Linked DNA regions of Homo sapiens: regions 1, 3, 4, 5, 6 and 7 are each linked to region 2. Evidence: promoter capture Hi-C in 16 types of primary human blood cells and fetal thymus (Javierre and others, 2016). All regions are on one chromosome and are shown on one strand. Each heading gives the region's core, a stretch centred on a gene start or on the middle of the fragment in contact. The rest is flanking DNA. Distances are from core to core; before and after follow the strand shown.

Evidence for each region. Contacts are between HindIII fragments. The CHiCAGO score rates a contact against its expected background, and 5 or more counts as called.
Region 1: a contact is called between a fragment that was not itself captured here and the fragment with the promoter of C12orf56 in region 2, in 1 of 17 cell types (activated CD4 T cells). The highest score is 8.7, in activated CD4 T cells.
Region 3: a fragment that was not itself captured here is called in contact with the fragment with the promoter of C12orf56 in region 2 in 1 of 17 cell types (non-activated CD4 T cells); the score reaches 5.4 in non-activated CD4 T cells.
Region 4: a contact is called between a fragment that was not itself captured here and the fragment with the promoter of C12orf56 in region 2, in 1 of 17 cell types (M2 macrophages). The highest score is 6.8, in M2 macrophages.
Region 5: a fragment that was not itself captured here is called in contact with the fragment with the promoter of C12orf56 in region 2 in 1 of 17 cell types (total B cells); the score reaches 5.6 in total B cells.
Region 6: a contact is called between the fragment with the promoter of AVPR1A here and the fragment with the promoter of C12orf56 in region 2, in 1 of 17 cell types (M2 macrophages). The highest score is 5.8, in M2 macrophages.
Region 7: a contact is called between a fragment that was not itself captured here and the fragment with the promoter of C12orf56 in region 2, in 2 of 17 cell types (non-activated CD4 T cells and activated CD4 T cells). The highest score is 5.3, in non-activated CD4 T cells.

The regions. Positions count from the first base shown.
Region 1 is chr12:66,302,352-66,305,068 of GRCh38, reverse strand. It overlaps HELB (DNA helicase B), which reads right to left and starts at 2,576. Exons shown (of 13, transcript NM_001370285.1): 1 at 2,279-2,576; 2 at 1-338. The coding sequence starts at 2,465. RefSeq lists enhancers at 1,246-1,555, 1,586-1,685, 2,317-2,396, 2,457-2,506. The HindIII fragment of the contact is 1,108 bases long and covers 914-2,021 here.
Region 2 is chr12:64,389,506-64,392,205 of GRCh38, reverse strand. C12orf56 (chromosome 12 open reading frame 56) reads left to right here and starts at 1,448. Exons shown (of 13, transcript NM_001170633.2): 1 at 1,448-1,892. The coding sequence starts at 1,641. The HindIII fragment of the contact is 6,871 bases long and covers 1-2,700 here.
Region 3 is chr12:66,154,707-66,157,453 of GRCh38, reverse strand. All of the region lies in intron 1 of TMBIM4 (transmembrane BAX inhibitor motif containing 4), which reads left to right. Among named protein-coding and RNA genes, the nearest start is that of TMBIM4, 14 kb to the left of the region's middle. The HindIII fragment of the contact is 5,078 bases long and covers 1-2,747 here.
Region 4 is chr12:63,092,496-63,095,290 of GRCh38, reverse strand. No RefSeq gene overlaps it. Among named protein-coding and RNA genes, the nearest start is that of AVPR1A, 57 kb to the left of the region's middle. The HindIII fragment of the contact is 502 bases long and covers 1,202-1,703 here.
Region 5 is chr12:66,111,096-66,113,795 of GRCh38, reverse strand. No RefSeq gene overlaps it. Among named protein-coding and RNA genes, the nearest start is that of LLPH, 18 kb to the left of the region's middle. The HindIII fragment of the contact is 1,421 bases long and covers 576-1,996 here.
Region 6 is chr12:63,149,668-63,152,480 of GRCh38, reverse strand. AVPR1A (arginine vasopressin receptor 1A) reads left to right here and starts at 1,280. Exons shown (of 2, transcript NM_000706.5): 1 at 1,280-2,614. The coding sequence starts at 1,645. The HindIII fragment of the contact is 3,248 bases long and covers 1,073-2,813 here.
Region 7 is chr12:66,172,586-66,175,443 of GRCh38, reverse strand. No RefSeq gene overlaps it. Among named protein-coding and RNA genes, the nearest start is that of TMBIM4, 4.0 kb to the right of the region's middle. RefSeq lists silencers at 418-620, 2,268-2,468. The HindIII fragment of the contact is 4,498 bases long and covers 1-2,858 here.

The DNA.
Region 1 (2,717 bases), core at 218-2,717, 1.9 Mb before region 2:
CCTTCCAGTTTCCTTGTGGAAAGTTCTTAGTGTTTCCCTAAGATTTTCAAAGTTTAGGTTTTTGTAGTTTGATACCTCCTTTACCCATGTTAAAAATTTATTAACATCATCACTGGAGACCTCACACTCTTTAAGAAAGAGAGCACAGATATGTTTTTGATTTGGTGGTGACATATCAGACTGCAAAAAGTAAGACGGAAATCCTTGAACTTGATATTGATAGCTCCTTGATCCCACCACAGGCTTTACTTGTACCTTCACTCTCCACCAAGCACCTGTTATCGGAAAACGTCCAAACACTTTACATGTCTCTTGTGTGTTTTCATCACAAATAGAAACTAAAAAAAAACAAACAAAAACCCACAAAAGTTAACTCTGGAGATTATTTAGAAACCGTTTCCTCAAAGTTTCATCAAACTTACCACTATCTTTAATCTCCCTACAGCACTCTCTAAAGATGTCTGGTAGGGTGCCTGTAACACTGCATTCTGCCTACCTCTTTTTCTGTCTCCCTCCACTACACTGTAAATACTAAAACAGGACACTGTTTCGTTTGTCTTTGTATTCCAAAACGCAAGCACAGTACACAGCAGGTGTCTGCTGTTCCTCTTCTAAAATCAGTCCCCTCTCTGCTACTCTTGACTTCAGCCAATACTGGCCTTCATGCAGTTTCTTTAAAATGCCATGGCCCTTCACTCAAGTTATTCCATCTGCCTTAACTGATCTCCCCTTTACTGTTTACTACATTTACTACAGACCTCAGCTTAACTATCACTTACTTAGAAAAGTCTTCCCTGAATCTCATGTATAAAACCTCTCAAAGCACTATTTAGCATTCCTTCTAAGCATTTAGTAACATTATAGTTACTTCTGTGATTAAAGAATGTTTGTTTAATACACTAGAGGGTAAGCTTCATTAAGACTGCAACCTTGTTATTTTATTTCTCTAGGTTTTCCCAGCACCAAACATGCTAGCCAGTTGATGATACTTTAGAATGACGACTAAGCCCTCCACAAATACTTGAAACTTTTCTGCCTAAATCTGCGCTGTCCACCCACGTGGCTATTTAAATTAAAATGTAATAAAACTTAAAATTTCTCTCCTCAGTTACACTAGCTGGATTTCAAGTTCTAAACAGCTACATATGGCTAGTGGCTATTATACCAGACAGTGCAGATATAAAACACTGCCATGATCATGGAAAGTTCTACTGAACAGCACCGGTCGGCACATTAAAATATTTTAAGTCTCAGTCACAAAGTATACATAACAGGTATAACTTATAGCACAGGAAACTACCTCATAGCACAGGAAACTACTTATACAAGGTTTACCCGAACCACAAGGTTACTAACACCAATTAACAATCATCTGTGCACTGAGGTGTTCCTTGTGTTTCGTTTTTCTTTTTCTTTTCTTTCCTTTTCGTTTTTTGAGATGGAGTTTCATTCTTGTTGCCCAGGCCGGAGTGCAATGGTGTGATCTCAGCTCACTGCAACCCCCACCTCCTGGGTTCAAGCAATTCTCCTGCCTCGGCCTCCCAAGTAGCTAGGATTACAGGTGTGCGACATCACGCCCGGCTAATTTTGTAGTTTTGTTGTTGTTGTTGTTGTTTTACTAGAGACAGGTTTCACCATGTTGGTCAGGCTGGTCTCGAACTCCTGACCTCAAGTGATCCACCTGCCTCGGCCTCCCAAAGTGCGTGAGCCACCGCGCCCGGACTGTTTTGTTTTTCCAAGAAGCTGAGGAAGAACCACGTATTTGACTCCAGGCAATATAGGATAATAATTACAAGTTCTCATTCTATAGAACTTGAGGATAAGTGGTCAGAAGGAAAAATAAAAGTTCCGATTCTGGGTGGAAATAGAGACTCAACATCCACTGTTTCCTTAAGCGTAAAACTACCTTACATTAAAGGTACATTAAATTAAAGGACGACCATTAAAATGAGAATAATTTTAAAAAAAAAAAAAAAAAAAAAGGGCAACCCGCTCGGGTCCCCTTCCACACTGTAGAAGCTTTGTTCTTTCGCTCTTTGCAATAAATCTTGCTGCTGCTCAAAAAAAGAAAAAAAAAAAAAAACCACATAGTATGTGTCCAGTTAAAGTCACTGCTATTATTATAGTCATAATTTTACCCTTGGTAGGATGAAGCAGCTAGACCACTGATAAGCTAAATCTGTTAGCACGACTGGGTGCCTTGCTCAGGGCAAAGCCAGAATGGGAAGCGCTACTTTGGACCCTCCAACCCCATCCCCCGGGCAGACGCCTTCCTCACCGCGGAGGCACCCGGGGAGGCTGCCAGCCTTTACGCCCCCACTGCAGAGCTCCTCGGCGTCGATGAACACGGACTCTTCATCCTCCTCCACGTCGTCGTTTAGGTAGTCGTCGTCCTCCTCCACCAGATCCCTGGGTGGGAGCAGAGGTCCCTGAAGTTGGCGCAGGTACGGACTCGACCTGGCCATGCTTCTCCTGAACTCAACCCAAACAACTCGGGAAAACCCTGGCTAACTGCATGGTCATGATCAGCCAATCAGTTCTACGACTGTAAGGCCATCAACTTCCGGGAACGGCCTGGCGGCCGCCAGCGTACATAAAACCTGAAAGGCAGCGAAGCTCCGCCCCAAGTTTCCAGGAATTGCCGAGGGGAGGGCATGTGGAAGGGGCGGGGCAAGGCGGGTTAGGGGCGGGGAAGGGAGAGCGAGGGGCTGGGAGAT
Region 2 (2,700 bases), core at 199-2,698:
GTCCAAGCTACTTGGGAGGCTGTGGCAGGAGAATGGCTTGAACCCAGGAGGCAGAGGCTGCAGTGAGCCGATATCATGCCACTGCACTCCAGCCTGGGTGACAGAGGGAGACTCTGTCTCAAAAAAAAAAAAAAAAAAAAAGTTTAGCCAGACCAAAACATTTCTCTTTCCCTTTGTACTAGTGTAGTCTACAATATCTGTTTATGGATTGTAATATATTTATACCTTCTTTCCACAAGGGATTTGAAGTTGCTTATAACATACAGTATACAATAATAAAATATGTAGAAAGGGAGAATATAAAGAATATATCAAATTTGATTCAGGGTTGCTGGCAGCCACAGCAATGAACGATATGGTTTCATTATCAGGTTTTTGGGTCAATGGGGAGGGGAAGAGAATAACTTTTCTAGGATTCGAAATAAAAAATGGAACTTCTGACTTAGAGCATTTCTGTTGTGCCCTTCTCATTTCTCTAACCTAATTAGTAAGTTATTCTTGGCCTGTAAAAACTAAGGAATACTTACTCCTCTGCAGCCTCAGGGTATGTAATCCGCATTCTTCAGTCTATCAGCTTCAACTTTTCAAGATGCCAGCATCACCCATTCATTCTTCCTGCATAGATTGTCCTGGGCATTGGAAACAAAACCATATGCCTTAGGTTGGTTTGGGTGTGCTCACATCAATTCATGTGAAGAATCCCTTTCTCAAAGGCTGGGCGAGGTGACTTAACGCCTGTAATCCCAGCACTTTGGGAGGCCGAGGCGGGCGGATTACCTGAGGTCGGGAGTTGGAGATCAGCTTGACCAACATGGAGAAACCCCGTTTTTACTAAAATATACAAAATTAGCTGGGCGTGGTGGCGCATGCCTGTAATTCCAGCTACTCAGGAGGCTGAGGTAGGAGAATCGCTTGAACCCGGGAGGGGGAGGTTGCGGTGAGCCGAGATGGCGCCATTGCACTCCAGCCTGGGCAACAAGAGCAAAGCTGCGTCTCAAAAAAAAAAAGAGAAAAGAAAAAAAAAATCCCTTTCTCACTGGTTGGAGAAAGAAGACCTATGTTTACACTCCGACAATATCAGAAAGCTGTGCCAGGCCATGTTATAACCAAAAGCTAAATCTGTGTGATTGGGTTTAATAGGTTTCTAGGGTTGTTAAAAATAAATCGGTAAATTAAACTCTTTCAAGTTTCTAACAGGAAACCAGATTGAAGCTGGCTTCCATTACCAATAAAGTTTGTATTGGATGGTGTGATCCGCAACAGAGTACGCAGTGGTGGGGACTGGCATTAGGGGTGGGCGGGAGAGACCCTAAAAATCCACCGCCCTTCGGCCGCAGGGGACTTCACGGTGATGAGCCCGAGGTGCCCATCAACTCGGGCCTGAAGGACCAGCGTCTTGCCCCGCCCATCGCCGTCTGAGGTTAGGACAAAGATCGAGAGGCTGGACAGGGCTGGGGAGGGCGCTCCAGGGAAGCCGACCTAGCGTCGATTCCTGCAGTTGCGGCCCGGGTCCCCGCGCCTGGAGAGGAGGCGACGCGTGGCCGGCGGCTTTGTGGCGCGCGGGTTCCAGCGCGGGGGCGGGGAGAGGGCGAGCTGAGGGCCTCGAGTCCCAGCACTCCGCCACGCTGCGGGCGCCGGGCATGGCCAGCCCCTTGCCGTCCGGCTTCCCCGCGCGCAGGAACAGCCGCCTGGATGTGTTCCTGCGGCGGCATCTGCCGCCCGAGGTCTACGACGCGGTCCGCGCCTACGAGCCATGCATCGTGGTGTCCAACTCTGAGAACCACATCCTCAAGTATGTGGTGCTAAGCGACCGGCTCGTCTACCTAACCGAGAACCCGCCCAAGTCCATCCGGCGGGTAGTGGCTCTGCGGGACGTCGTGGCCATTGACCTGGTGAGCGGCGCGGGTGGGCAGGCGGGCTCGGGAGCGCAGTGAGAACTCCCGGCTGGGGCCCCCAAACCCAGCCCTCCTGCGCGGGGAGGGCTGCCCCATCCTGCCCTCGACTCCCCTCCTCTTATTTGAGAACGAGGAACACAGGGAAGCTGTGGATTGCTGTGAGCACTCCTAATACAAACACGTCTCCCATTCTCCTCGTGTCTGCCTGTTCACCCATTCTCCCGCCTCCCCTACCCCACGTAGGGCTACAGGTTTGAGAACCGAGCTCCCTATCAAAAATACCTTTTAAAGTCATTCCTTTGTTAACAAAGCACCTAGTCAGTGCCAGGCACTGTGCTAGACTCGGAGGATGCAAAAACGAAAGAGGGCCCCTACCTAGAAGCAGTCGCTGGAGGGCTAGAAAGCCAACACCCGTGCAAATAAATGCTGTGTGTTAAGTGCTGTTATATCTCATTTACTTTTTTGCCCCCGATGCTTAGAGCATGTTAGATGCTCAATAAGAATAAATGCATAAGGCCGGGTGCCGTGGATCACGCCTATAATCCTTACACTTTGGGAGGCCAAGGTGGATAGATCACCGGGGGTCAGGGGTTCGAGACCAGGCTGGCCAACATGGTGAAACGCCGTCTCCACCAAAAGTACAAAAATTACCCAGGCGTGGTCGTGTGCACCTGTAATCCCAACTACTTGGGAGGCTGAGGCACAAGAATCGCTTGAACCTGGGAGGCGGAGGTTGCCGTGAGCCGAGATCGCCCCACCTGCACTCCAGCCTGAGCTACAGAATGAGTGAGACACCGTTCCCCTC
Region 3 (2,747 bases), core at 60-2,559, 1.8 Mb before region 2:
GAATATGGGTAGTTTTAGTTTAGAGTTTGTCCTAGGTTGTGGTCAAGATATTGGCTAGTGCTGGTCATCTGGAGGCTTGACTGGGGGTGAAGGATGTGCTCCCAGGCAGGCTACTCACAGGGCTATTCATAGGAGTCCCTAGTTTCTCACTGGCTGTTGGCAGGAGACCTCACTTTCCTCCCACATGTGTTTTTCCATAGGGTGCCCTTAGTTTCCTCACAACATAGCTGGCCTTCCCTGAGTATGCATTCTTAATGGGGTGCTATTGACCCCATTAGATGATAGTTGGATGTAAAGATCTAAAAAAAATCTTAAGATTTTATAATGGTGTATATCCTTCCAAAGGGCGATGGTACAACAGATATATAGTATATTTGTGGCATTAAAATTTTATTGAGGGGGCTATTAGGAAAAAAGTACCTAGAAGGCTACTTAGGCGGGGAATAATGAAAACAAGGTTGAGAAACACTGTCCCAGAGGAAATGATCCAAGAAAGAGCAGGAGGAAGCCATAATCCCTTTTATGACTTGGTCTTAGAAGTAGCACCCTGCCACTTTTGCATCATTCTTTTTGTTAGGACTCACTTGAAGGGAGTGTCAAAGAACTGTGACTTACCATAAACCACTACTTCATGTAAAGAATGATAAGGGCATTCCAAGTAGAGGAAAGAGCAAGTGCAAAGGCCCTGAAGCGGGAAAGTGACTAATGTGGGTAAAGCATGGTGAGGAAGAGAGAGAGTGCTGAGATGAGATTGGAAAGGTTCTACATCATGTGGGACCTTGTAGGTCCTATAAAATCTTTCACATTTTATTTTAAGTGGAACGATTATTTAAGTATTTAAGCAGAGTCACATGATATGGTTTACTTTACATAAAAATCACTTTGACAGAGTGTGTGGAGAAATAGGTGGGACAAGAGTGAAAGCATGGGGACCAATCAGAAGGTTCCTCCAGTGGTCCAGGTGAGAGATTAGGCACACTTTGACTAGGGAGGTAACAGAGGAGACCAAAAGAGGCAGATACGTTGTACTTTCAAAGGTAGAACTACAGTAGTTGCTGATAGATTGGGAACAGGGAGGGGGTAATCAAAGATGACTTCTATGTTTTTGGCTTGGATGATGTTGGTGCTGGTTATCGATGAGAACACTGGGAGAACAGCAAATTTGGATAAATGAAGAGCTCCAGTTTTGGCCATGTTAAGTTTTGAGATGTCAAATAGAAGGGAAGAAATCAGGACTCAACAAAAATTGGAAAATCTTGCTGTTTGACTAGTATTCTTTTCATATTGAATCTTTTATATTTTCCTGAAAGCTGTATATGCATGTCCTTTGCTACTTTTTATATTATTCACAATGGGTGTCAATACTGCTTTTGCCTGGGATTTGGCTTATGATACTAAAGTATAGAAAAAGTTATGGTCTGGAATATCTGCATAAGGAGAATTTTTTAGTATGAACTTAAAGGCTTAGCACGAGTTTCTTTAAAATGTTTTTAATTGCAATAGTAATACATACTGCTGGTATCTAAAAAATACAGATTAGTAAAGAACTGAATATGAAAATTATCCTTAGTACTACTGCCCAGGGTATACGAACACCTGGATGTATATTATTCTAGTCTTTTATTACATATGCACTTGTGTACATATATACAAATAAACATTAGATCTTAATGTGCACATTGTTTTGAACTGTAAATCAGTTTTACAAAATGGTAAGAAATAACACTAATTTCCACTGCTTGAGAGAATATATATCATATGGATTGGGTTTGAGTTATATGAGGTACATAATAGGGTATCAAAAGTAAAGAATACATTCCAGGGCCAGTCACGGTGGCTCCTGCCTGTAATCCCAACACTTTGGGAGGCCAAGGTGGGTGGATCACTTGAGCCCAGGGGTTCAAGACCAGCCCGGGAATGTGGTAAAACCCCATCTCTACAAAAAAATTAGCTGGGCGTAGTGGCATGCACCTGTAGTACTAGCTACTGGGCAGGCTGAGTTAGGAGAATTGCTTGAGCCCTGGAGATTGGGGCTGCAGTGAATCATGATCATGCCACTGCACTTAAGCCTGGGTGACAGAGTGAGACCCTGCCTCTCTCTCTCTCTCTCTCTCTCTCACACGTGTGCACACACACCCCATCCTGGTGTGGGCCTGTATTCCCAGCTGCTTGGGAGGCTGAGTCTAGAGGATGGCTTGAATCCAGGACATGGAGGCTGTAGTGTAAAGAATATGATTTTTTTTCTCATAGCCCAGAAAATCCCTTGCAGGTGTAATGGCTTGACCTTTGGTTTAATAATTAAATTTGCAGAAAGATATCCCAAATAACATTGTCCATGCCAGTAGTATATTCTTTACTCTGCTTTTATGAAAAAGATAGAAATGACCTCCCAAAGCATTCAGACATCAGGGCCTTTTTGAGAAAGTAAGTCATAGATCTGTTGTGGAGTTGAGAACTGTTTATCTCTAAGCCAAAATACAATGGACACTCAGTGTTCTTATGAGTCAGTGGTTAAATCATATGCCCAGTAAAATCTGTTTAGGACATCAGGAAAAACTCACTCTAGATTTTGGAAAGAGTGCCAGAGGGAAAAATTAAGTTTAATATTTAGGCATTTTGATTATTAAATCCTTAGTATTCATGAAAATTCCCTTATTCCTGTGAAAGATTTTGTTTTTTTAACTTGATATTTGGCTGACATGCCATCAAAGCACTTCACCCTTCCTTGGAAAGCCAGGTCTTTAGTA
Region 4 (2,795 bases), core at 203-2,702, 1.3 Mb after region 2:
AAGAAAAAAAAGGGGATATATGAGCAATTGTATAATACAGGATTTAGTATTAGTCCTCCCATGGTCCTCCCACCCTACCCTGTCATCACTCACCTCATATCTCTTTTCCTTTACACCTTGATAAATGTTCTAGATAGATCCAATCTGCCATGCGATTTGAGCATCTAAATTTAGTCCTTGAGACTTTCTGTCCTGTGACATCTAGGATAGCTTGACTGGAGTAAAGTTGGAGGCTACCATCACACCAAGGTAATTTCCTCTGGGATCTATTTTTCCTTGACACCAGAATTGCTTTTGAAGAAAAATCACCTGCTGGGCGTGGAGGCTCATGCCTATAATCCCAGCACTTTGGAAGGCCAAGGTGGACAGATCACCTGAGGCCAGGAATTCAAAACCAGCCTGGCCAACATGGTGAAACCCCATCTCTACTAAAAATACAAAAATTAGGCAGGCGCGGTGGTGGGCTCCTGTAATCCCAGCTACTTGGGAGGCTGAGGTAGGAGAATCGCTTGAACCTGGGAGGCGGAGGTTGCAGCGAGCTGAGATTGTGCCACTGCACTCCAGCCTGTGCAACAGAATGAGATCCATCTCAAAAAAACAAAAACAGAGAAAGAAAAGAAAAAAAATCACCTACAGCTGGTATTCTTCTACAAAAACATTACATTGCAAGCATTTTGCACTAGAAGGGAACAAAGTTTTTTCCCACATTTTTTCCAGTGAGAGCAGTTTTGATACCTGGTAAATGTTTGAAGAACCAGTAATTTTATATGAAATTGCAGCCTTTCTTCTAGGTGATATTTCTAGCTACAATTTCTGCTGTAGTCTCTAGCAATATTTTCTGCTGTTATCTGATTCCTTTTTATTTTATCATCATGGAGTTTGGGGGTGTTTGCTTTTTTTGTTTGTTTTAACTAATTGTCAGCACTTCTGGGTTCACCATTACCCTGACCAGGCTAGAGACACAGCTACATCAGGAAAAGCAGCAGAATCTCAGCCCCTGAAGATCACTCACACCCAGCCACATTCTTTCTCCTTTCCTTCCATCCCCACCCCTCCCCCTTTCTTCCTTTTTAGCTTCCTTCATTTCTTACCCACAGCCCTTTCTTTCCCATCTCAGGAACTACATGTGAGTCCACATGGAGCTGTGCTCTGAATCATGTCTCTGCTCTAAAAATTATGGGTTTCTTCACTATATCAAGCTTGTTTCCTGGACTTCCCAGAGAATTAGATCTCCCCTAGAAGACTCTCAGCCCTCTGTGCATGTAAGCTCATGACAGACCCACTTCATCACTTACTCGGGTATCTTTATACTGGTCTGAATCACACTGATGGAGAAGTCTTAAGCTCAAGGACCAACCTCTTAATAATGTACATAAAATGATGTCTTGACGTCTAGGGAAGCCTTGGAACAGGATTGTGGTTGGGGAATGAATCAGAGGAAGCTCTGGCCTCCCTACAGTCTGAAAGTCTTTCTCCCTGCTCTCTCAGGCATTAAGGGCCATCTTGTTTTCCCCTCAATAGACCCTGAAAAAGAATGTCAGATTTTTCAGCATGAAATATCTACAAATTAAAAAGGAAAAAAAAATTATCTTGATAGTATTGCCTGCTAGAAAACGGTAAGGGAAAAAACCCAGTCAGTCCACAATTAAGGATAGAGAACTAAAGTTAATACTTGTGTAAATGTAAAGACATAGAACCAAGCTTTACACTTCTGTTCATCCCCCTACCTCAGCGAAGCAAACAAGCAACCAACCAATGACCTAACAAACAAACCTACTAGCAAACTATAAAAGGGATCTGCTGTACCATGGAGTTGGAAATTCCCTGGGAAAGGCAGGCAGTGAATCTGGTTTGATCAGGACTCTGGCTCCACTTGTCTGCAGCTCTCTTGGCTCTCTCTCCTTCTTATATGGGCTTAGTCTGCAAACTAGCTGCTCTCATGATCAAAAGATGGCTGCCAACAGCAACCAGAACTGCCTGCTTCCTTTTTCATATCCACGAAGCCCTAGAGCTTCACATAGATTGAGCCACCCATGTGGTCATTGTCATATCATGCACTGATTGACTCAGACCTGGGTTCCCTCAACCAATTTTTGTGTCGTGGAAGATGAGAGTATCCTTCTGGGGTAAGCAGCTGGAGGTGGGTCAATGCAGCAGAATTATAGGGCTACTACACAGTAGGGAGAACAGTGATGTCCCAAAGAGAAGTTTGGGTACTGTTAGAAGGTGGAAGGAAAAAAAAATTGATGTTGCATAGGTAACAGGTCAACTTCACCCACAGTTGGGGATTGCCCACAGAGTATCAGCACTCAGCATGTCCCTGATGAGTGTGTTGTTTCATGAACTTTTATCAGCTAATTTCCTATAAGTCCACCATTTACTTTCTGAAAGTAAATGTAACTGAAAGTCACCTAGCTCCCATTACTCCATAACAGTATTACTACTTTAAGAGAATGGGGTGGAGTCATTTCAGAGAGAATAATGCAGTTCTACATCCTGCCCCATAAGTGCACACTGTGAAGAATGATTGTTAATATTTCAGTGTGACTACTGGTTGTTGAATTCAAAGGCATGCCATTCCCTGAAGTCAAGATCATTTCAGCATCCTCATCTTCAGTGCCTCTCTCTTAATTTTATTTCCACATTGTAATTCCTTCAGAGTTAATTTTCTGCTGTAATATGCTATGATGCAGCCTTCTGAAATTCAAGTCCTGACTGTTTTCCACATTTCAAACATACTTTCTTCCCAGAGTCAAGTAGAATCAAAACTCAGGAGACAAGGCCTTGTCTCCTGA
Region 5 (2,700 bases), core at 37-2,536, 1.7 Mb before region 2:
TTTATAAATTATCCAGTCTCAGGTATTCTGTTATAGCAACAGAAAATAGACTAAGATAGTATGCAAATGGGCTGGCCCTTTGTTTTTGTAAAAAAGTTTTATTGGCACAAAGCCATGTCCACATGTCCATGAATTGTCTGTGAATAATTTGTGCTACAAAGGCAGAACTGAATAGTTGTGACAGAGATTCTTGTATAATCAGCAAAGCCTAAATTAAAATTTGGCCTTTTAAGAAAAAGTTTGCAGACTGCTGCTTTAAAATATTTTCTATAGCAAGAAGTACCACTACTGAAAAGAAAAATGAAAAGTAAAAAAATAAAATATTTTCTGTTTGTTAAATGAAGGCTTTTGTTCTTTATTTGAAAATTCAGGTGAGTTGGATCTGGTTTTATGTTTCCATCCTGTTGCATTTTATATTTGGAGAATCCCTCCAAGTTTCTTATTGGAAGGCAGTTGTATTAAAAAAAAAAAAAATAGACAAGCTTACCCTCACTCTGTATCAATGCAAGGCAGGTGGTACCAAAAGGTTGTTTGTATGTTTAGGTGTGTTCCCCATCTGCCACCTCAACTAAGCTTCTTTTAGTCTTTGGACTTAAAAAAAAAAAAAGATTGTCCCATTGTAGAGCTTTTTTCACAAATCTCATAACTCACTTTTCCCTTAAGTCTACAAACAATTTTTGAAAATGTTAAATGCTGGAGAAAGAACTCTGTTTTAATTTAATATGGCACCTAGAATACTGGCACATGTAAAGACATTCCAATTTAGTTTGATTTGGTGGGTGGTCTAGCTGAAAATACACTTACAGGTTGGTTTCATTAATAGGAAATTAATATGGACTAAAATAGTCATAGCATTTAAGGCTGGAAAACGTTTTAGAGATCATCTATTTTAACTTGTGCTTCTTAACAGATGAGGAAACTGAGGCCAATTTCCCCAAGAGGTTAGTAGTTCATGGCAGAGACCAGGAGCCCAAGAGTCTTTGTATTCACAGACCAATCTTTTTCAAAACCATAAATAGGTGACAATTAACCACACAAATAATAACATTTGGACTAATGTCAAAATTAATTGTATTCTTTTCTATAAAAGAGGGGTTGTTAAATAAAGCTATGGTGTGTGACTAGTGATCTTTTCTGTAGGTCTGTTTCTGCCGTAGTTAATAACCAATCCTTTCCCATTGGTGGCTGTGCCTCTTTGTTCCACAGGTAGTATAACATCTTTTACTTGAAACAAAACAAAACAGCAGTAACAAACTTCCCCCCTCCCCCATGCCCTCCATCAAAGGCCAGATTTTTTTTGTTTTTGTCTCTACTCTTTCCCTTCTAATTCATCTTGTGTGGTTGTCAACTTCTTTTTCTTTCCATAACTTTTGTTGTTTTTTCTCATAAAAGTAACACATGTATGTTGGAGAAAATTTTAAAACCCAAGAAAGTATAAATGAAATAAATAATTCATAATCCAACCACCCAGAGAATGTGTAGCTCTGTGTATATTTTCATAATTGTCTTAATACTGTATAATTTTATATTCTGCTTTCTTAACTTTATATCATGGGGATTTTTTTCCCATGCTGCTGGAAATTTTTTAAGAGTGTTGTTTGAAAAGTTCCCTCATTCTGTCTTGTGATAAACTATATATTTTTTTATTTGTCTACTTTTGGACATTTAATTTTTTTCTGAAAAAACTTTTTATTTTTGCTATTAAAATACTTCTCTGTAATATTAATGACCTTACATGTAAGTCTAATCCTTATCTGATTATATTCTTGAGGAAGGGTTCTAGAAGAGTATGAACTTTTCTTTAAGACTCCTTATCTGTATTGCCAAACTGCTCTCCTGAAAGGCTGAAACAATTAGTAATCCTTCCAGGAGTGAGTGAGTGCTTGTCTGGGGTACCCTTGAAGGGTTGTAAAATTTAAGCCTTTTAAAACATTCCTTTCAGTAAGTCATTCTCCTGCTAGGAAACTTCCCATGGCTGCAAGACCAAATTGAAGCTTCTTAGCATACTCTCTTCCATTTCTTCACTTCCAGTTGATTTCACAACCACTGCAATCTGGCAGGTCTAACATTATATTGATGTCTAATACCAGGAGTGACAAATTGGTACCCTTGCCCTGGAGAGACTTTGTACAGTGTTCTGCTTTGTTTTTTTGATGAGATTGTTGCCTTTAGATGGGTCAGACACTTCTAAAGTGATCTCTAGCTAGACAGTCCCTTTTGTTTGACACACACTGACCGGCCCTGGGAGGAAACTGCCTTAGGTAAACCCATGCCACTTACGCTCTGTAATCTCTTTTCCTCACACACTCCATGGCTGTCACTGCCAGGGCATCTTGGCTTCTACTGCTTTTTCCTGAGAGAAAACAGTAGATATTTTATTGTGGTAAAATATACAAACATAAACATTTATCTTTTTAACGATTTCTAAGTGTGCAATTCAGTGGCATTAAGTACCTTCACAGCGTGGTGCAATCATCACCACTGTCACTACTGTTTCCAGAATTTTTTATCATTTCAAACAGAAACTCTGCACCCATTAAACAATTACCCCCCATTCTCCCCTCCCTCCACCCCTAGTCTCCACTATTCTGCTTGCTCTCTCTGAATTTGACTACTCTAGATACCTCATATAAAGGGAATCATGGAATATTTGTCCTTGTGTGTCTGGCTTCTTTCACTCAGCATCACGTTTTCAAGGTT
Region 6 (2,813 bases), core at 31-2,530, 1.2 Mb after region 2:
CTGGATAGTAAAGTGGAATTATTACTGAGAACTGCAATGAATAAAATCTTTTGCATTTTTTGCCTACGTTTCACAGAGGGTGATATTTTTCTGAGGCAATTAAATTTATACCACGGCCACAATACTGAAACGTTCTGACCAACAAAGTCATGCTCCTGCATCTACACAGCAGATAACTGCAGAAACGGCTTCCTTTCTTCCTTGTAAAATTGCCTGAAAACAGCTCCCCCTTGCTGTCCGTCGAGGCATATCTTCACCAACGTTAAAACAGAGCTGAGGGAGATCGCATTTCTGCCTCCCTCCCGCCCTGCAGAGGGGCTCCAGCTGTTCAGAGTAACGGATTACTAGGTAGGTGGTTGTTTCCCCTCCTTCCCAGGGCCTCTTTCCTCTCTTTGAGATTGCCTCTTTCTTACTCCTGAGCACAGGAGCCGGGCGGGTTTTCTGTCCCTTGCCCTGGACAGCACTGCCTGGATGGCCGCTGTCCGGCAGCTGCTCTTTGTCCACCCAAAAAGATGTCCCCACGACTCAGTAGTAACCAGACGGTCCCCACGGACCACTGCGGCCAAATTTCCGCCATCCCCGCTGTGGGAATCAGGCTTTTCCCGCAGAAAACCCCAGGAATCTAGAGAAAACTCCTTAAGTCCCTAGTCTCCATAGAGAAAACCAGGAGACACTCCCCCCAAACCCCGCTGTGAATACAGGCACAGCAGCCACTGGGGCTGCAAAGTGATGAGTGCGTTCTTCCCGTCGCAAACATAGGGTAATAAATAGCATGCATCAAAGACGTTACTAGGAAGAGATAGCTCTTTAAGTCACGAGCGGGGAGAAATGTTTGCCCCGGGAAAATTTGCCTGGGGAATAAAATTTGCCAGACTGCTGCACGGGTGAGCTCGGTGAGAAGGAAGAAACCCGGACTGGAGGAGGTGAGGTCGAGAGCCAGGTTCAGGTGCAGGAGCTAGATGCGTGGACGCCGGTGCGTGGACTGGAGGTTTCCAGGTACCGCGCTTAGCGTGCCTGTTGAAGTCAAATGCATGGTTAAGGAGGCTAGCGAGGAAGGCTAGTGAGGGAAGCTTGTGGAAACGGCTACGAGCCCAGAAAAGGCATGACTCGTCCAGTTGTCCAAGTTTTTGGAAGGGAAAAGCGGGAAAGCGCCACGATCCCACCTACTGTGAGGAGGAATCTGCGAGTCTCCCAGCTCCACCCCCTCCACAGTGATGCAGAGGACAAACACCGACGTAGGGAGAGGAAAAAATAAAACTCCAGGGAGCGGGGAGTAGGCAACCAGCAGTCTTCCGGCAATAGGGCGGGAGGGAGCGCGTCCCAAGGAAACAAGCACCGCATAAATACTTGAGTTGGGAACCCAGTGCTTCCGGAAGCTCGGAGCTCACCTTCCCGACCTCGCCGAAGTTGAAAAAAGGCAGAGCAGGGAGAGGGGCCAGCTCACCCTGCTGAGAGCTGCTCAGTGGGCAGGCGGGACGCTGCTCCGGGAGACGCCCACTGGAGGGATCGCAGAGCCCGGCAAGCTGCGAGCGCGCCAAAGACCCTGCGCTTCGGACGAGGAGCCCAAGTCCTCCGAGACGGGGAGGGAGCGGCCCGCGAGGGCTGGAGCTCCGAAGAGGGCCGAGTAGGAGCTGCATGGACAGCATGCGTCTCTCCGCCGGTCCCGACGCGGGGCCCTCGGGCAACTCCAGCCCATGGTGGCCTCTGGCCACCGGCGCTGGCAACACAAGCCGGGAGGCCGAAGCCCTCGGGGAGGGCAACGGCCCACCGAGGGACGTGCGCAACGAGGAGCTGGCCAAACTGGAGATCGCCGTGCTGGCGGTGACTTTCGCGGTGGCCGTGCTGGGCAACAGCAGCGTACTGCTGGCTCTGCACCGGACGCCGCGCAAGACGTCCCGCATGCACCTCTTCATCCGACACCTCAGCCTGGCCGACCTGGCCGTGGCATTCTTCCAGGTGCTGCCGCAAATGTGCTGGGACATCACCTACCGCTTCCGCGGCCCCGACTGGCTGTGCCGCGTGGTGAAGCACCTGCAGGTGTTCGGCATGTTTGCGTCGGCCTACATGCTGGTAGTCATGACAGCCGACCGCTACATCGCGGTGTGCCACCCGCTCAAGACTCTGCAACAGCCCGCGCGCCGCTCGCGCCTCATGATCGCGGCCGCCTGGGTGCTGAGCTTCGTGCTGAGCACGCCGCAGTACTTCGTCTTCTCCATGATCGAGGTGAACAATGTCACCAAGGCCCGCGACTGCTGGGCCACCTTCATCCAGCCCTGGGGTTCTCGTGCCTACGTGACCTGGATGACGGGCGGCATCTTTGTGGCGCCCGTGGTCATCTTGGGTACCTGCTACGGCTTCATCTGCTACAACATCTGGTGCAACGTCCGCGGGAAGACGGCGTCGCGCCAGAGCAAGGGTGCAGAGCAAGCGGGTGTGGCCTTCCAAAAGGGGTTCCTGCTCGCACCCTGTGTCAGCAGCGTGAAGTCCATTTCCCGGGCCAAGATCCGCACGGTGAAGATGACTTTTGTGATCGTGACGGCTTACATCGTCTGCTGGGCGCCTTTCTTCATCATCCAGATGTGGTCTGTCTGGGATCCCATGTCCGTCTGGACCGGTACGTGCCGGGAAAATAGAGGAAAGTGCAGGGATAGGAGTGTGTGTGTGTGTGTGTGTGTGTGTGTGAGAGAGAGAGAGAGAGAGAGAGAGAGAAAAAAATGAGAATCTAGCAATTTTCTTCATAGTATCTTCTAGGGCAGTAGTTTTTAAACTTCTATGTGTACATAAGAGTCGCACCTTGGAGGAACACTGTTTAA
Region 7 (2,858 bases), core at 274-2,773, 1.8 Mb before region 2:
CACGTGTTTCAGAGAGCAGGGGTTTGGGGGTAAGGTTATAGATTAACAGCATCCCAAGGCAGAAGACTTTTTCTTAGTACAGAACAAAATGGTGTCTCCTATGTCTACTTCTTTCTACACAGACATGGTAACAATCTGATCTCTCTTTCTTTTCCCCACATTTCCCCCTTTTCTTTAGGACAAAACCGCCATCGTCATCATGGCCCGTTCTTGATGGTGGCTGTCTCTTCGGAGCTGTTGGGTACACTTCCCAGACCAGGCGGCCGGGCAGAGGCGCTCCTCAATTCCCAGACGGGGCGGCCGGCCAGGCAGAGGCGCACCTCACTTCCCAGAAGGGGTGGCGGCCGGGCAGAGGCCCTCCTCACCTCCCAGACGATGGGCAGCCAGGCAGAGGCGCTCCTCACCTCCCAGATGGGGCGGCCGGGCATAGACGCCCCTCACCTCCCAGACGGGGCGGCCGGGCAGAGGCGCTCCCCACCTCCCAGACGAAGGGCCGCCAGGCAGAGGCGCTCCTCACTTCCCAGACGGGGCAGCCGGGCAGAGGGGCTCCCCACATCCCAGACGATGGGCGGCCAGGCAGAGATGCTCCCCAGTTCCCAGACGGGGTGGCGGCCGGGCAGAGGCTGTCATCTTAGCACTTTGGGAGGCCAAGGCAGGCGGCTGGAAGGTGGAGGTTGCAGCGAGCGGAGATCACGCCACTGCACTCCAGCTTGGGCAACACTGAGCACTGAGTGAGCGAGACTCCGTCTGCAATCCCAGCACCCCGGGAGGCCGAGGCGGGCAGACCACTCGAGGTCAGGAGCCGGAGACCAGCCTGGTCAACAGGGCAAAACCCCGTCTCCTCCAAAAATACAAAAACCAGTCAGGCGTGGTGGCGCGCACCGGCAATCCCAGGCACTTGGCAGGCCGAGGCAGGAGAACCACGGGAGCCTGGGGCAGGGAGGCTGCAGCGAGCCGAGACCACAGCAGCACAGTCCAGCCTCGGCAACAGAGGGAGACCAAAGGTGAGGGCGAGGGAGGAGGGAGGCAATGATAGTTTTAAATACAAATTTAAAAGGGCGTTTAATGCATATGTGGAATCACCAAAATGACACGATTTGTATTTCATAGCTTGTACATATTTATTTCATTCTTATAAGAACTGTGGAAAATTCACACAAAATTAAATCAATTATTTTTATTTCACTTCTTCATACATGCAAACTATATCAACACTCTCTACCTTCAGCTTATTGCAAAGGATAACCTGAAAAGAAAAGGAACTATGATTGCCATATCTTTCCCTTTCCTTCCGTGTCTTTGAGTGTAAGTGGTTGACATTTACAGGGAAAGAACACAAGTAAAAAACTATGTGGGCTGGGCACGGCGGCTCACGCCTGTAATCCCAGCACTTTGGGAACAGAGGCGGGCAGATCACGAGGTCAGGAGATCAAGACCATCCTGGCCAATATGGTGAAACTCCGTCTCTACTAAAATACAAAAAAATTAGCCGGGCATGGTGGCGGGTGCCTGTAGTCCCAGCTATTCGTGAGGCTGAGGCAGGGGAATCGCTTGAACCCAGGAGGCGGAGGTTGCAGTGAGCCGAGATCGCGCCACTGCACTCCAGACGGGCAATAGAGCAACACTCTATCTCAAAAAAAAAAAAAAAAAAAAAAAAAAGGATGTGACAGCCTGTAATCCCAGAGCTTTGTGAGGCCAAGGCTGGAGGATTGCTTGAGGCCAGGAGCTCAAGACCAGCCTGGGAAACACAGCAAGACCCTGTCTCATAAAATTTAAGAAATTAGGTCCGGGCACGGTGACTCACGTCTGTAATCCCAGCACTTGGGAGGCTGAGGTGGACGGATAACCTGAGGCCAGGAGCTTGAGACCAGCCTGGCCAACATGGTGAAACCCAGTCTCTACAAAAAATACAAAAAAGTTAGCCGGGAGTGGTGGCGGATGCCTATAATCCCAGGTACTTGGGAGGCTGAGGCAGGAGAATTGCTTGAACCCGGGAGGCGGAGGTTGCAGTGAGCTGAGACCTGCGCCATTGCACTCTAGTTTGGACAAGAGGGAAACTCCATCTCGGAAAAAAAAAATTAGTTGGGCATGGTGGCATGCATTTGTAGTCTTAGCTACTAAGGATGCTAAGATGGGGTGAGCCCTTAAGCCCAGGAGTTTGCAGAGAGCTATGATTGCACCACTGCCCTCCAACCTGGGCAACAGAACAAGACCCTATTAAGAAAAAAAAAAGGATGTGAAAAGATTCCTTGGTCATTCATGTTTCTTAAAACGTCATTGCTTTCCTTCTGCATTCAAAGTAAGTTCTCCTCGGTAAGGAAAGCTAGGCCTCTTGGGGCTGTCTGTGCCTTCTCTTCTCTTCCCTTTACTAAGTCACAAGTGTGACATGCTTATCTTTTACTAGCTTTGAGTCTAGCTTAACTCCCAAACATTGCAGGTCTAACAGAATTCTGAGCTCATGGGGCATGCTAAATGCTTAAATGCAAATGATTGGCAGGAAACAGTGGACATCCACATTGTGCATACCTCTTCTATTCATGTTCATGTTCCATTGTACTTTCAGACTTCACTTACAAAACACATGTTCAAAGGCAAAATTACTAAGTATTTCAAAATGGTGACAGCTGAGCATTAAACCAAGTGCAGAGTCCTTCGGAGTCCAGGGCTCTGTGCAATAGCATAGGTTGCACACCTTTTAAGTCAGCTCTTATTTGAGTTCTAGATAATCCAGTTTTGCCAACACTTGATATTATCAATCTCTTAATTTTAATCATTTGGTGGGTGCTTAGAGATATCTAATTTTGGCATTTATTTACATTTCTCTGATCAACTTTTCATATATTAGCCACTTGGCTGTG